2 separate regions of the Homo sapiens genome follow, and region 2 is linked to region 1. Evidence: promoter capture Hi-C in human tissues and cell types (Jung and others, 2019). All regions are on one chromosome and are shown on one strand. Each heading gives the region's core, a stretch centred on a gene start or on the middle of the fragment in contact. The rest is flanking DNA. Distances are from core to core; before and after follow the strand shown.

Evidence for each region. The method cuts DNA at HindIII sites, captures the fragments that hold promoters and counts their contacts. A contact is called where the count stands out against the background at its distance.
Region 2: the fragment with the promoter of LRP1 here is called in contact with the fragment with the promoter of RPL41 in region 1 in 1 of the 25 tissues and cell types used here (thymus).

The regions. Positions count from the first base shown.
Region 1 is chr12:56,112,313-56,119,624 of GRCh38, forward strand. RPL41 (ribosomal protein L41) reads left to right here and starts at 4,321. Exons shown (of 3, transcript NM_001035267.2): 1 at 4,321-4,487; 2 at 4,877-4,899; 3 at 5,170-5,655. The coding sequence starts at 4,476. The coding sequence ends at 5,212. It overlaps PA2G4 (proliferation-associated 2G4), which reads left to right. Exons shown (of 13, transcript NM_006191.3): 13 at 511-1,598. The coding sequence ends at 576. It overlaps ZC3H10 (zinc finger CCCH-type containing 10), which reads left to right and starts at 5,954. Exons shown (of 3, transcript NM_032786.3): 1 at 5,954-6,006; 2 at 6,776-6,839. RefSeq lists an enhancer at 3,913-3,962 and a silencer at 5,629-5,678. The HindIII fragment of the contact is 6,838 bases long and covers 1-5,748 here.
Region 2 is chr12:57,125,289-57,132,600 of GRCh38, forward strand. LRP1 (LDL receptor related protein 1) reads left to right here and starts at 3,195. Exons shown (of 89, transcript NM_002332.3): 1 at 3,195-3,743. The coding sequence starts at 3,677. RefSeq lists enhancers at 2,202-2,855, 5,937-6,106. The HindIII fragment of the contact is 3,919 bases long and covers 2,254-6,172 here.

The DNA of each region.
Region 1 (7,312 bases), core at 3,071-5,570:
TTGAATGTGCTCAAAACATTTATTGAACAAATTATCATGTATCGAAATATCCATATTGCTTTCACGCCATTGTGAAGTTGAAAAATCACAAGTTGACCATTGTAAGTCAGAGACCTGTATGTCTTTATTTCAGCTGTGACCCAGAGGATTGAGATAACTTTATGGCTGGGTGTGGTGGTTCACACATATAATCCCAACAGTTTGGGAGGCCTAGGCAGGAGCATCACTTGAGCCCAGGAGTTCAAGATCAGCCCGGGCAACATGGTGAAACCTCATCTCTACAAAAAATACAAAAAAGTTGTACATGGTGGCATATGCCTATAGTCCCAGCTACCTGGGAGGCTGAGGTGAGAGGATCACCTGAGCCCAGGGAAGTGGTACCACTGCACTCCAGCCTGGAAAACAGAGTGAGACTGTCTCAGAAAAAAAAATACTTTTATCTCTGGTCCCAGACATCCCCAAGTAGTTAGAAACTGACAGGTCTTCTCCCTCTCCTTTTCTTGCATATAGGCCTCCAAGACTGCAGAGAATGCCACCAGTGGGGAAACATTAGAAGAAAATGAAGCTGGGGACTGAGGTGGGTCCCATCTCCCCAGCTTGCTGCTCCTGCCTCATCCCCTTCCCACCAAACCCCAGACTCTGTGAAGTGCAGTTCTTCTCCACCTAGGACCGCCAGCAGAGCGGGGGGATCTCCCTGCCCCCACCCCAGTTCCCCAACCCACTCCCTTCCAACAACAACCAGCTCCAACTGACTCTGGTCTTGGGAGGTGAGGCTTCCCAACCACGGAAGACTACTTTAAATGAAAAAAAGAAATTGAATAATAAAATCAGGAGTCAAAATTCATCGTCTTCAAGCCCCTCTTTCTAGCCTTTTCTACTACTCTCTGCTTGGTCAAGGTTTGTGCCCCACTACAGAACAGGGCTAAATTAGCCACCACCACTGAAAACTCAGCCGAATTTTTTTATACCACTCTGATGTCAGCATTTTTTCCATCTGTTTGGGGCTTTTTCCTCTTTTTTCCATTCTCCCCAAATATTTTATCTGGCTTCAAAATTAAGAGGATTATTTTTCAGATTGTTTTTATTCAGTGTGGCCGATTCCTCATCTGATTCAGGCTGTCCAGTCAGGCCCCTCCCATTTTAGGAGCTGGAGCCTTCATTTATGAAGAGATTCTCATCTATGAAATGGATCCTCATTTGTAAATCTTTTTTCTTCCATTTTCACAAAGCTGTAAAGAAATAATCCATCTCAACCTTACCCTTTTTCTCTGGAGTCAGTGGGGTCTTTCCTCGCTCCATCTTACACAGACCTGAGCTGGAAGCTCAACTGGTTTTGTTCCCTGTTTGAAATATTGTGATCTCCCTCCCATGAAAGAAAAACCAAGAACCAGAGGCGTAGACTGACTGAAGACACAACTCCTGGCTTTCTGAAGCTATGGACTTGGATTGGATTGCTGGGGGTTTGTAGAGAAAGGTGACAAATTTCAGTACCTCTGGCATGCTGTCCCAGGAAACTAGGGCTCCCACTAACTTATGAGGTTTTTAAACACATTGAAAATGACATGACATTAAAATAAATTTGGATTTGCTCATAATGATGTGCTTTGTATGCTGCTCTTGTTTGATGGAGGTGGGGAGAATGTCAGTTGAAGTGGTATTGGAACTGTTCCTCCACAGTGCCATGCTCTACCTTCCCAAAACGAGGAATGTCTTGACTTGCAGAAGACACAAATCTTAGAATCTTTGATGATATAGTAATCTGCTGGAGTTGGGTGGTGTAATTTTCTAAGTAGAAACAGTCCTCACTGCTAAGATTTGTTTGGGGCTAGGACACAATGTCTACTGCAAAAACAGTACTGCAAGTGTTTATCTTGAATTCAAGAAGCCAGGAAGAATGGTACACTAGTTTTCAGGGCCAGACTAAGGTCAGATGGGTAATTAGTTTATCTTACTACATGTCAGGAATTGCTAAACTAGAGATACTACAAGTGAACAGAACTGAACACAGGTCAAATGTGTAATGATGTATATCTACCATTAAAATAGAGTAGTTTTAGTGCCCTAAAAATCCTCTGTGTTTTGCCTGTTCATCTCTCTCTCCTTGCTTACGCATTTGTCCAAAGGCAAAGAATGTACAATGCCAATGCCAAGAGTGAACCCTAGTGTAAACTAAACTATGGATTTGGGGTGATAATGGTATATCAACGTAGGTTCTATTGTTAACAAATGTACCACTCTGGCAGGGTGGAGTGATGTTTATAAAGGGGGAGGCTATATGTGTGGGAAATGTCTATACCTTTCTCAATTTTGCTGTGAACCTAAAACTGTTCTAAAAAATTAAGTCTATTAAAAAAAGAAAAAAACAGCCAAGTGCGGTGGCTTATACCTGTAATTCCAGCACTTTGGGAGGCCGACGCAGGCAGATCACCTGAGGTCAGGAGATCAAGACCAGCCTGGCCAACATGGTGAAACCCCATCTCTACTAAAAATATAAAAAGCCAGGCTTAGTGGCGGGCGCCTGTAATCCCAGCTACTTGGGAGGCTGAGGCAGGAGAATCGCTTGAACCCAGGAGGCGGAGGTTGCAGTGAGCCAAGATCGCGCCACTGCACTCCAGCCTGGGTGACAGGAGTGAGATTCCATTCCGTATCAAAAACAAGCAAACAAAATTTCCCTCAAAGAGCTTATAAACTAGTTGGCAATCATCAGTTGAAATCTTGGTGGAACTGATACAAAATAATTCTGCTAGGATTTTTTTTGTTTCAAAAAAATTGTCATATATATTTGGGTGGTGACAATACTACAACTACTTAGAAGGAACCTAATTTTAAAAACGTTTTTCAGGGATTGAAAGTGAAATGCTATCCTGGAATATAATAAAGGGAAACCACAAAAAAAGAGGGATTGTAACAATCACATACAAAATGTTACAGTATTTTAAAACTGTAAGATGAAGTCTCTATAGGGAAAGGGTTCTTTTTCATCCCCCATTAACTCAAAAGTTTCCTGTAGCCAAATCTTAGGGGATCTGGTTGTTTTCCAGTGCTTCTCACCTGAGCATACAATCAAACTGGGAAGTTCTTTATCTTAACACCAAATGTCATACTTTCCCTAGATTTAGGTAATTTTCTCCCTATGTCCGTTGGTTCGCTCTTCACCCCTAGAGAATCACTGCATAGGTCACTGCAGCCTCGACTTCCTGGGCTCGAGATTCCCCCACCTCAGCCTCCCAAAGCGCTGGGATTACAGGCATGAGCCACCGTGCCCAGCCCGCTGACGTATTTTCTGAACAAATGATGCATTGTAGCCAGGAATCTCTAGTGATATTTTGCTTCGGGCATCGTGGGGGAAGACCATAATCAGCTATTTTATTCTTGAAATTTAGGAAAAATAATTGCTCTATCTTAAACAGTGAGAAAATATTTTTTGAAGTATGGCAGCTTTCCCGAATCCCCACTTTATATCTTCCTATGTTCTGAAATCTTAGGACCTTCGATGGTTCCGGAATCGAATCACCCTGCAGCAATTTATTTTAGAAAATAAGGCAAACCGGCTGGGCGCGGTGGTTCATGCTTGTAATCCCAGCACTTTGAGAGGCCGAGGCGGGCGGATCGCTTGAGCTCAGGAGTTCGAGACCAGCCTGGGCAACACAGCGAAACCTCGTCTCTACTAAAAATACAAAAATTAGCCAAGTGGCGCGCGCCTGTTGTCCCAGCTGCTCGGGAAGCTGAGGCGGGAGAATCGCTTGTATTCAGGAGGCGGAAATTGCGGTGAGCCGAGATCGCGTCACTGCACTCCAGCCTGGGTGACACAGTGAGATCCTGTCTCAAAAAAGAAAAAAAGAAAGAAAGAAAGAAAAGAAAGAAAGAAAGAAAGAAAGAAAGAAAGAAAGAAAGAAAGAAAGAAAGAAAGAAAGAAAAGAAGGCAAACCAGTAAAACAAGAATTTCTGTACAGTCCGCGCCTATCCATAGCAAAATGGAGGACTTCTCCAGGGAACTGCAACTCCCAAGAAGCAATGCGAGGGAAGGTGGCGGTCACTATTTTTTCCCCGTCTGCACCTCTAGGTCCAATATTGGAAATAGGTGCTGACGTTTAAATAACACAGCGTCCTCATACTAAATCTGGGGGGGAACTGGTAACTCGAAAACCAAATACTCGGTCTTCCGAAAGAACTAACTCAACCTACCCTTCTACAAGAGGGTCCGAAAACCACTGTTACGCCCATTGGGTAGCCCCGCCCTTGGGGGGGGCAAAGGGCGTGAAAGCGGAAGTGACGACACCCGGCGCTCCATTAAATAGCCGTAGACGGAACTTCGCCTTTCTCTCGGCCTTAGCGCCATTTTTTTGGGTGAGTGTTTTTTGGTTCCTGCGTTGGGATTCCGTGTACAATCCATAGACATCTGACCTCGGCACTTAGCATCATCACAGCAAACTAACTGTAGCCTTTCTCTCTTTCCCTGTAGAAACCTCTGCGCCATGAGAGCCAAGGTGAGCGGTTCCTGGTAGTAAGCTTGGGAGGTAGGAGTTGGCGAGTAGTAGCGAGGAGACGAAGGCAAGTCCGCCATACCTCCTGAACTACTGGGTTTCAAGGGTGCCCAAGAGCTGGTGGGAGAGAGAAGGTAGTTTGTGAGAGAGCTAGCGGTTAAGTGCTATGGGTAGAGAGGGTGGGCTTAGAAAAGGGTGGAATTCTGATCTTATGTTGGGAGGGTGTCCAAGTTACTGATGTAGTTGTTACGACCAATCTTTCATACTTCTTGGTTAAGAATCTGTCCGGTTCTAAAGAGTGCATTTCATATCCTTGCTAAGCCTACTAATAAGCTTCATCCCTTTTTTTTTTTTTTTTTTTTAATTATCTGCTGCTTGTGATCGGTTGCTAGTGGAGGAAGAAGCGAATGCGCAGGTACGTTGAGACTTTGCCAGCCCAGGAGGAGGGAAGTTCCTTGGACAAAACTTAGGAGAAACATTTGGTTTGGAAATCTTAAAAGATCTTTAGGAGAAAAACGTTTGAGTGTTTTCTCCCTGGAGCCAGGATTTAACAGAACAGAGAACGATAGAACCGTAGTGCTTGTTCATTTTACCACCTCATTCTTTATGTGGACGTTTGATTTAATGTGGGAGGGAAAGGCAACTCTGGTTTGAGGTGTATTCCATTCCTGTGTCTGCTTTTCAGGCTGAAGCGCAAAAGAAGAAAGATGAGGCAGAGGTCCAAGTAAACCGCTAGCTTGTTGCACCGTGGAGGCCACAGGAGCAGAAACATGGAATGCCAGACGCTGGGGATGCTGGTACAAGTTGTGGGACTGCATGCTACTGTCTAGAGCTTGTCTCAATGGATCTAGAACTTCATCGCCCTCTGATCGCCGATCACCTCTGAGACCCACCTTGCTCATAAACAAAATGCCCATGTTGGTCCTCTGCCCTGGACCTGTGACATTCTGGACTATTTCTGTGTTTATTTGTGGCCGAGTGTAACAACCATATAATAAATCACCTCTTCCGCTGTTTTAGCTGAAGAATTAAATCATCTTGTCTATTATGTTTTTTATGGTTCCATCGGGTGGGGGTTTTCTGTCATTAGAGTTTGCCCTGTCACTACCTGTGCTATGGAGGGTATCAAAGCTATAAAGGCAACAGCCCGGGTTACGTGGTGTGGTTTGCATCTCGCTGGAGTTGGATGGGATATGGTACGTCTCTGGAGGCAGGTTTTAGGTTTCGCGGGTTATTAGGGGCCAATGCTGGTACCGCCCCTTTCCAGGAGGGCTGCCTTGGCGACTACCGCTTAGACCATGTCGTGCCTTTGGGTTGGGTTGCCATAGTGACACGCAAAGCGTGCTGGGAACGCCCTGCGGCATGTCGCACGCGTACTTCATACACCATAGAGTATGGTTCCGGGTCTGCTGGCTAGAGCGTCACTTCTTCCGCAGGAAGCGGAAGAGCGATCGGGTAGGCGGCTCTTTGTCGAAGCTAGAGGACCGGCAGGCGGCAGCAGCAACTACGGCGGCGGCGGCAGGTGAGGGAGGCGGGAGACTTAGGTGGAGGCCGCGCCCGGAGGGGAGGAGTCGGGGCCGGCCCAGCGGCTGGGCTCGGCCAGGCCACAGAAGGCCCCCCAGAACCGAGCTGGCTCGTCCTCACACCCCAGGGCAGTGCCCCTTTTCTGAGTGACCCCGCATCGCGAGCAAACGCCAGCTTCGTGACGTCACAACCCTGCCCATCCCCTCAGCTTGATGACACCTGGAGCTCCAGCTCCCCGCTTCACTTCGCGCGCCCTTAGTGTCCCATTCACGTAGCCCACGGCTGAGCGCCGGCGGCACTGCACGGAACCTGCCAAGCTAGAAGACTTGCTGCGGGAAAACTCCTAGGACTTCTTTCGCAAACTCTAGGGTGTTGGGAAGCGTCACAATCACTGCCTTCAAGTCTAATCGGCCATCCCAATGCACTGTCAGACGCTGCCTTTTTGAGGTTCCTCACTAGCCATTACTAACTCCAGCCCTTGGCGGTGCTCTGACCCTCACATCCTCTTTCATCTTGAGGCAGGGCGCCCCGCACTCTTTGTTCACTCAGGGCTGGTTTTCCAACCCCTCCTCCCAGTCCCTCCGAATTAGTTTTACTCTTCTTACTGGCAACTTCTCCCTTGGACAGGTGAAGTTCAGTTTGAACCCTGAGGAAATCCTCACGTTCTCGAAGCTTTGCCGTTTTGTCAGATTTCTTGTGACAACCACCCCATAGTCCTCCACTCTTACTCCTTCTTCCACCCAAGTCTCTGTTTTTTTCCTGCTCAGAACCCAGCAGTGATGTGGAGGTGGAGACCCACAGGAGCCCCGGACTTCACCTGAGCTACCTCAGGTATCAATTCTGGGAGAGTGGGGTGGGGAGGAGCATCATAACTAATTATCTGCTGCTGGTGCGACTTGCAACGTGAGCCAGGCTTGGATAGATGGCATTTGTACTTCACCTGGTCATTCCCCTTTACTAAAAGTTTGTATCTTCTTTTACCACTTCTTTCCTTGATTGCTTCTATTATTCTGGGACTACCTCTCTTTAGAGGAGGAGGACCCTCTTACAGATTCTCTTGTAACTCTGGCCTCTGGTTTGGTTAGTTCATTTTAGGGAGATCTGAAGGCAAAGTCACAGTAGTGGGGTGGGGGTAGGTCAAGGCCAAAGGAATTAGGAAAGATTCCCTTATTCTCAAAGGGAACAATATGAAGTTTTCCTATTTCAGCAGCAGGGGGAGCCTGAACACCGCATAGGAAAGGCTTGGGAGGTCAGACACGTGGTAGCAGGGACTCCAGGTCTTACTGGGGGTGGAGAGAGGGGAG
Region 2 (7,312 bases), core at 1,945-4,444, 1.0 Mb after region 1:
CTGAGGCAGGAGAATCGCTTGAACCTGGGAGGTGGAGGTTGCAGTGAGCTGAGATCACACCACTGCACTCCAGCCTGGGCAACAAGAGTGCAACTCCATCTCAAAAAAAAAAAAGAAAGAAAGAAAGAAAGAAAGACATAAATATGCATTCTCTCACCTTACAGACATACCCTCAGCAGTTCACCTGCTGGAAATAACCCAAGTGCCCAACAATCCCAACAAACTGTGGAACATCCAAGCAAGGAGATTCCAAGTAGCCAAGATCAAAGGGTGAGCTAAATGCGTTCATACGGTATGGAAAGGGATCAAGCTAAGTTAATTGAAAAAAAGGCAAGTTACAGAACACTATATATCATATGAGTTTCTTTATAGTTTTAAAGGATATTCACTTATATTTGTATGTTACTGTTTTATTTATTTATTTATTTGAGACAGGGTCTCCCTCTGTTGCTCAGGCTGGAGTGCAGTGGCACGATCTCGGCTCACCACAACCTCCACCTCCTGGGTTCAAGCGATTCTCGTGCCTCAGCCTCCCCAGTAGCTGGGATTACAGGTATGCGTCACGATACGTGGCTCATTTTTGTATTTTTAGTAGATATGGGGTTCCGCCATGTTGGCCAGTGTGGTCTCGAACTCCTGAAAAGTGATCCTCCCACCTTCGTCTCCCAAAGTGTTGGGATTACAGGCATGAGCCACCACGCCTGGCCTGTATGTTACTGTTTTAAAAACTCTCCTGGCCGGGCACGGTGGCTCACGCCTGTAATCCCAGCACTTTGGGAGGCTGAGGAGGCCAGATCACGTGGTCAGAAGTTCGAGACCAGCCTAGCCAACATCGTGAAACCCCATCTCTACCAAAAATACAAAAAAAATTAGCTGGGTATAGTGGCGTGTGCCTGTAATCCCAGCTACTTGGGAGGTCAAGGCAGAAGAATCGCCGAACCCGGGAGGCAGAGGTTGTAGTGAGCCGAGATTAGGCCACTGCACTCCAACCTGGGCAACGGGGCAAGACTCCGTCTTGGGCGGGGGGGAAACCTCTGCTGGTAGGGGAGACCTGAAGAACTGTTAGTAGAAGTTACTCTGAGGGTGCAGCTGAAAAATGGGGGTGTGGAGAGCATCAAGTTTCCTTTTACTTTTTACCTTCCTGTACTTTTTTTAACCACTAGGTATTATCTTTTCTTTCTTTCTTTTTTTTTTAACAATATAAAGTTAATAAAAATACACATTCACATTCAGGAGACAGCAGGGGATGGGAGGTTGCAAGTGAGAAGTGCATGCTGACTGAGGCCAGGTTTTGGAAAGCCATGACTGAAGAGGAGTTCACATTTGACTGGTCTATAGACACCCACTAGAGGTTCCCCAGCAAGGAAGAGACACCGGGAAAGCAGTTTTTGGAAGATTCACCTGACAGATGGGTAGGGGGAGGGAGGAAAGCCCCTTCAAGCCCTCAGGCTACATGTGGTTGCTCCAGATACCGTTTTCCTCTCAAAGCTGTCAAGCTGTCTAAAGTCTGTTTCGACCTGATTTCACTTGGATCCCAATACTGGGAGGGGCCCTGGGAGGAACCTCGTAGGCATTTGGTGAGTCCGCATAGTGCGTCTCACATTGTGTTGGGCCATGGGAGCTGGATAAAAGGAGAAATAAGACCCCGTTCCTGCCTGGAGCAACTCTCTGGCAGTGGAAATGGAGGAAATCTGAGATATACTTCAGAGGAAAAAAATGACAAGCCTGGAGCACAGGCTGGCAAGATTGGATATAGGAAGGAAAGGCCCCCTTGAGTTGGCATAAAGTCTGAGGTTTCTAGCCCAGGAGACTAAAGGCAGGTGGCCACCGCGCTGAGCAAAGCCGGCTGGAAGAAGCTAAAGGTTGAGCTCACTGTCATTAGGAGGCAAGTCCTTCGTGCTGCTCCTGTTTCTGCCAAGGACAGACTGGAGTGGGGACTTTTCCGTAACTAGAACGTAAAAGGGGGAACAGTCCCTCCTCTCCAGCGTCAATTTTTGGCAGCCGACGTCGTCTGCCCCGCTCCTTGAACTCTGACATGCAGACACCTAGAAAGTCAGACACTAAGGTAACAGCCATAAAACGCCGCCCAGAAGGGGGCAGTGACCAAAAGCACGTTCACTGGCCCCTGGGAACCGCCTGGCGCCTGCCTTCTGCAAAGTATCATTCCCGTGTGGGCTGAGCCTGGGGACAAAGGTCCGGCGCTCAGCAGACACCTCCTTGGAACCCGAGGCCTGGAAACGAAGGTCCAGAGTCCCTCATCTTATTCCAAATCCTGGCGCTCGGAATCTAAAACCCTAACTTGATGGCAAGCCAGTCAGAAGGTATTAAAAAAAAAAAAAAAAAAAAAAACAGAAAAATAAATGAGCCCCGACTTCTTGGGCGAAAGGGGGTGGCCTTTCCTCAACCCCACCCGCTGGTGACTCACCTCCCTCCAAACCAGGGCCTGCCCCTCCCGCGCCTAGGGCTGGGCGAGCAGGGCGGGCGGGTACTAAGGTGGGCTCCATCCCCGAGCCCCACGCGGGCGGACAAGCTCCGGCGTGTCCCCTCGGGTGTCCCTGTTTACTCCGAGCCCGGGAGCGAGGTGGGGGCGGGTCCTCGCGGTCCCTCCCCAACCCCGCCCCCTCCTTCGCAGGCCCCAATCCCAGTCCGGTCTTCCAAAGTCTCCAAATCAAAGCTCAGCCTTTCCCTGCACCTTCCCCGCGGACTGGCGGTCCCTGTCCCCACCCCGGGCAGAGGAGGCACCTTCAGGGTTCCCCTAGAAAATCGAGCCTCGGCCCAGACCACTGAGTCCCGGACGCCCCCGGAGGGAGCCTGAAATCCTAGAGTATGACACTGAGTTTCAAAGGGGAGCCGCTCAGCTCTCCGCCCACTGCCCAATCCCACCCTCGACCCCTTCTGCTCTCTGGAGCACCAGGGAGGAGGGCCCAGCCAGGGGAGAGGGCGCCCCAGGCCCCAAACTAGCCAGCGAGTCCCCGGGACCCTCACTCTTGGACCGCTTTCCAGAACTCCGAACCCTGTCGCGGGTCCGCGTCGCCCTCCCCCGGGCAGCGCGTCAAATCGGCGCATGCGCACTCACTGGATTGCCGCGTAGCTCTTTCTCCCCCCACCCACCAACCTTTTTTCTTTCCCCGCCCCTTCCCTCCCTCCCTCCTCAACCCGTCCCCTCCCTCTCCCCCATCAGCCCCCCCCTCGGCACTTCAGTCCGGGGAACAGCGGTGCGAGCTCCAGGCCCATGCACTGAGGAGGCGGAAACAAGGGGAGCCCCCAGAGCTCCATCAAGCCCCCTCCAAAGGCTCCCCTACCCGGTCCACGCCCCCCACCCCCCCTCCCCGCCTCCTCCCAATTGTGCATTTTTGCAGCCGGAGGCGGCTCCGAGATGGGGCTGTGAGCTTCGCCCGGGGAGGGGGAAAGAGCAGCGAGGAGTGAAGCGGGGGGGTGGGGTGAAGGGTTTGGATTTCGGGGCAGGGGGCGCACCCCCGTCAGCAGGCCCTCCCCAAGGGGCTCGGAACTCTACCTCTTCACCCACGCCCCTGGTGCGCTTTGCCGAAGGAAAGAATAAGAACAGAGAAGGAGGAGGGGGAAAGGAGGAAAAGGGGGACCCCCCAACTGGGGGGGGTGAAGGAGAGAAGTAGCAGGACCAGAGGGGAAGGGGCTGCTGCTTGCATCAGCCCACACCATGCTGACCCCGCCGTTGCTCCTGCTGCTGCCCCTGCTCTCAGCTCTGGTCGCGGCGGCTATCGACGGTGAGTGAGATTCCGCGTCCCCCTTGGACCCCTGGGGGCACCCTCTCCCCAGCCCCCACTCCTGCATACGGATGGGGAAGGGAGACGCGGGAGGGGGTGCCTTTTGTTATCCCAGTCCAGCTGACACAGCAGCGGCCCGACTGGGGGCGGGGATGGGGTCCGATTTGGGGGATGGGGGCCCTGGGCAAATGATGCTTCCGGGGCCCCCCAGCACAAACAAAGACCAGAGGCCTGGGTAGAGAGAAGAGGGCTCCCCATTTTTCTGATCCTGGGGAGGAGAGGCCTTCTTTTCCTATCTCTGTTCGGGGAGGGCCTCCGCCTCCCCTACATCCTCACAACCCCCCACCCCCCATCTGAATTGTGAAGGAATCCGGATTTGCAATGTTCGGCTGCAAAAGGGGGTGGGGGTGGGGGGGGTGGCTTTTGCACTGGCCTCTGTAGCTCGAAAGGGGAGCCAGGCCAGGGGTACCCTGCCGGGCAGAGGGCAGGCAGGCCCGGGAAGGCTGTGGGTGGGGAGAGGGAGGGCCCCCTGCTTGGGCGTGGAATCGACCCCAGAGCCCCGGCTGGAGGCCTGGGTGCTGAAGTAGGCTCTTCCCCCTCTCAGGGCCTCTGTCAGTAGCCTGGGGTAGGGCTGTGTTGGGGGGCAGAGAGGGGGAGCTCGCCATACTATGTGACTTTGAATTTTCCTTCTTAATTCCTGGGAGCTTTGAGATGAAAAAACGTCAGATGTCATCACTGGGGAAGGGGACTGGAGAATGGCCTGGAATGCTGGGGTAGGAGGGTGGGGGAGGCTGCCTTCTTCCTGACTTCTGGCTTCATCACAGTTTGGATTGGAAGGAGAGTTGGAGGTTGGATGGGGATTATGGCTGTGCCCCCACACTCCTTTAGTAAATCTGTTTATTCCCTGCACCCCTCCAAGCCCAAAACCCCATACACACACACTTTGTATATTGCAGAGTTAGGCTTAGGCTAGAACTGCATCCTTTTGGGGAAATGGGGTGCCTCTCTTCCCTTTTTTTGTCAGCTGTTTTTTTCTCCTACTTGTGAGTCACTGGTTCAAGTCTTGCCCAAGCTTTAAGCATTAAGCTGGGGTCATGGGGTTGGGCTGGGCTAGGTCCCTGATTTGAGAAGGGGTGGGATCTCATCCCCTCCTGTCATCTTAGCCCTCTCATCCAAAGACAAAACTGGGCTGGATACCATCATACACCCCCTCCTCTGTCTTGCCAGATTGGGATTGGGAAAGTTTTTCTCTGAAACCAGATTATCTCCCTCCCTCTCCCTAACTTGCTTCAATTGGGGGAGGAGACTTACAGGGTCAGGAAGCAGCTGTGTCCCCAAAAAACATATTTAGTGTCCCTCAGTTGTGCCATCTTGGGGACTCTCTACCCCCCACCCCCACCCCACCAATTAGCTGCCCCGGAGGAGGAGAGGGGCTTTTCCTGAATATCCTCCAGATGCCGCACAGCCGGCTTCTGCCTATAACTCCTGTCATTATCATGTGTTTTTCTCTTGTTCTCAGCCCTGTGAGGTGAGAAGGGAAATCGAGGCAGGGAGATTGGGGTTGCAGCCGCTTCTGGGAGGAATAGAAAAAAAATTTGAGAGAGAGAGAGACCCATCAGGAGCCCCTTGAAGGAGGGTGGCTAGAGTTAGGCAGAAGCAAGAGGGTTTCTGTGGAGAGCAGGGAAGGTCAGGAAGGGACCCCAGATAGCATCACTCCCAGGGCTCTAAAGGAGTTCTATTTGCCACACCAAGTTAGTGGAAGAGAGAGACTGGACATGTTCTCCTTAACTATCTCCCTACCCTTTCTTAAAATGTTCACCCACGCCCCCTCTGTATCTCCAGCTCAGATCAAACTATCCAAAGCCCCAGGAGAGGACCCCTCCCCAAACACACACCAATATTTCTGCCTTGGGAGTGGGAATATAAATAATCAGCTCCACCCCACTCTTGGGTACAGGGTGGTGAGAAAGGGGAATTGCATAGAAATGTAAGTTCAACTCTATCCAGAGGCAGCCTAGGGGATCCCTTATCCCTAACCCCTGCCCTCTTGCCTCAGGGTCCATCAACATTGAACTTTCTTGTTTACTTTCCAGAGAATGGAGATGACCCAGCTCACCTGACTTAGTATGTTACCTTCCTCCTGCTATCACAGCCTTGCTGCTTTCTCTCCAGGGCAGCAATCCTAGGGGCTTTCCCACCTCTTCTGCTTTCTCTTCTATGCCTGAAACTGCCTCTGGGGTCCCCTGCCCTTTGGGGAGTAACGTCACTCCCCACTAGCGACAAAATTGAGTGTACCTGCTGCTGGAGAGGTTGCAGAAAGATGGGGTGGAGAATGGGACTATTGAGGGCCCTGCTGAGATTGGGGAACATTTTCTAGTGGGGAGGGCACCCCCAGACAAATACAGCTCACAGAATAAGGCTGACTTCCTCCCTCCCTTTTTCCTGACCTTCCTCCACACACCCCCTTGAGCCGGCATATTACCAGTTACTAGAGTAGGTACAGTGGAAGTGAGTTATGAAGCTGGGGTGTTAGCTTCCTGGATCCCTGAGAGAAAGTTCTAAACTCCTTTCTCCCTGATCAGACTCACATCCTAAACGTCTCCCTTTGCCTCGTTGTCTTTTAAAGCAAGAATGTGTAAGAAATTCATTTTGGGGTTGGAGGGATATTTTGATGTTTAGGGCTGCTTCACTAGACATCTTTTTCTTCTGATCTTGTTCTCTCTCCTCTCTTCATTTTCTCAACCACCCTTCCACCACTGAGCCTCCCAAAGGATGACAGCCCAGGTCCTGGCCAGAGTCAGTTCCTGTCCAGATGCCCCCATTCTTCAAAACCCCTTCCTTACCTTTTGGGAAGCCCTTCCTTACTCAAGTCTATCTCTCTTTCCTCCTGCTGCAGTGTGAGCCCTTGCACATCAGAACCCCCAAGCCTAGGTTTATTCCCGCCCAGTACTCTCTTCTCAGGGTCCTCCTCACTCCTCAGACTCTTTACCTTTCAGGTCCTCCAGCTCTGCGTGTGGGCTCATTGCTCTTGGGGCATCTGGGTGCAGCTGAATGGTACTGCAGGAAGGCCCCTGACTTGGTAGTGCTGGGTATGAGCGATAGAGAACCTGCCTCCCTCTTCTGTCCCAGATTTCAGCCTGGTTAGCAGGATCCTGCATTGTTTGGAGAAGGAAGCAGTTGGCTTTGGAGTGTTTCCGGTGCAATGGCCTCAGGCACCAATATAAACCCTCCCTGGGAAAGAGGTGAGGGGTATATGTGGAGAGTTGTCCCTCTTGCTCCCCTAGGGGAGATGAAAGCCTCTCCCTCTCCCACCAGGCCTTAGCTTCCCTGGCTGAAGAGCTCCATTTTCCTCCCTCCTTTCTACCCTCCTGACTCCAGGGGTGGTAGTGGTCCCTATTCTGGGTCTCCCTTGAGTCAGGCACTGCCTAGGGCCGAGACTCTGTCTCTCCAAGATAGGACAGATCTTGCTCCCACCCTACTCTAGGCTCAGCGGGGTAGTCATTCTCTGGGTTCATCCCAGGACAACTGTGTCATCCCCTTGGCAATCTCTGGACTGAGCCCCCTTCCTG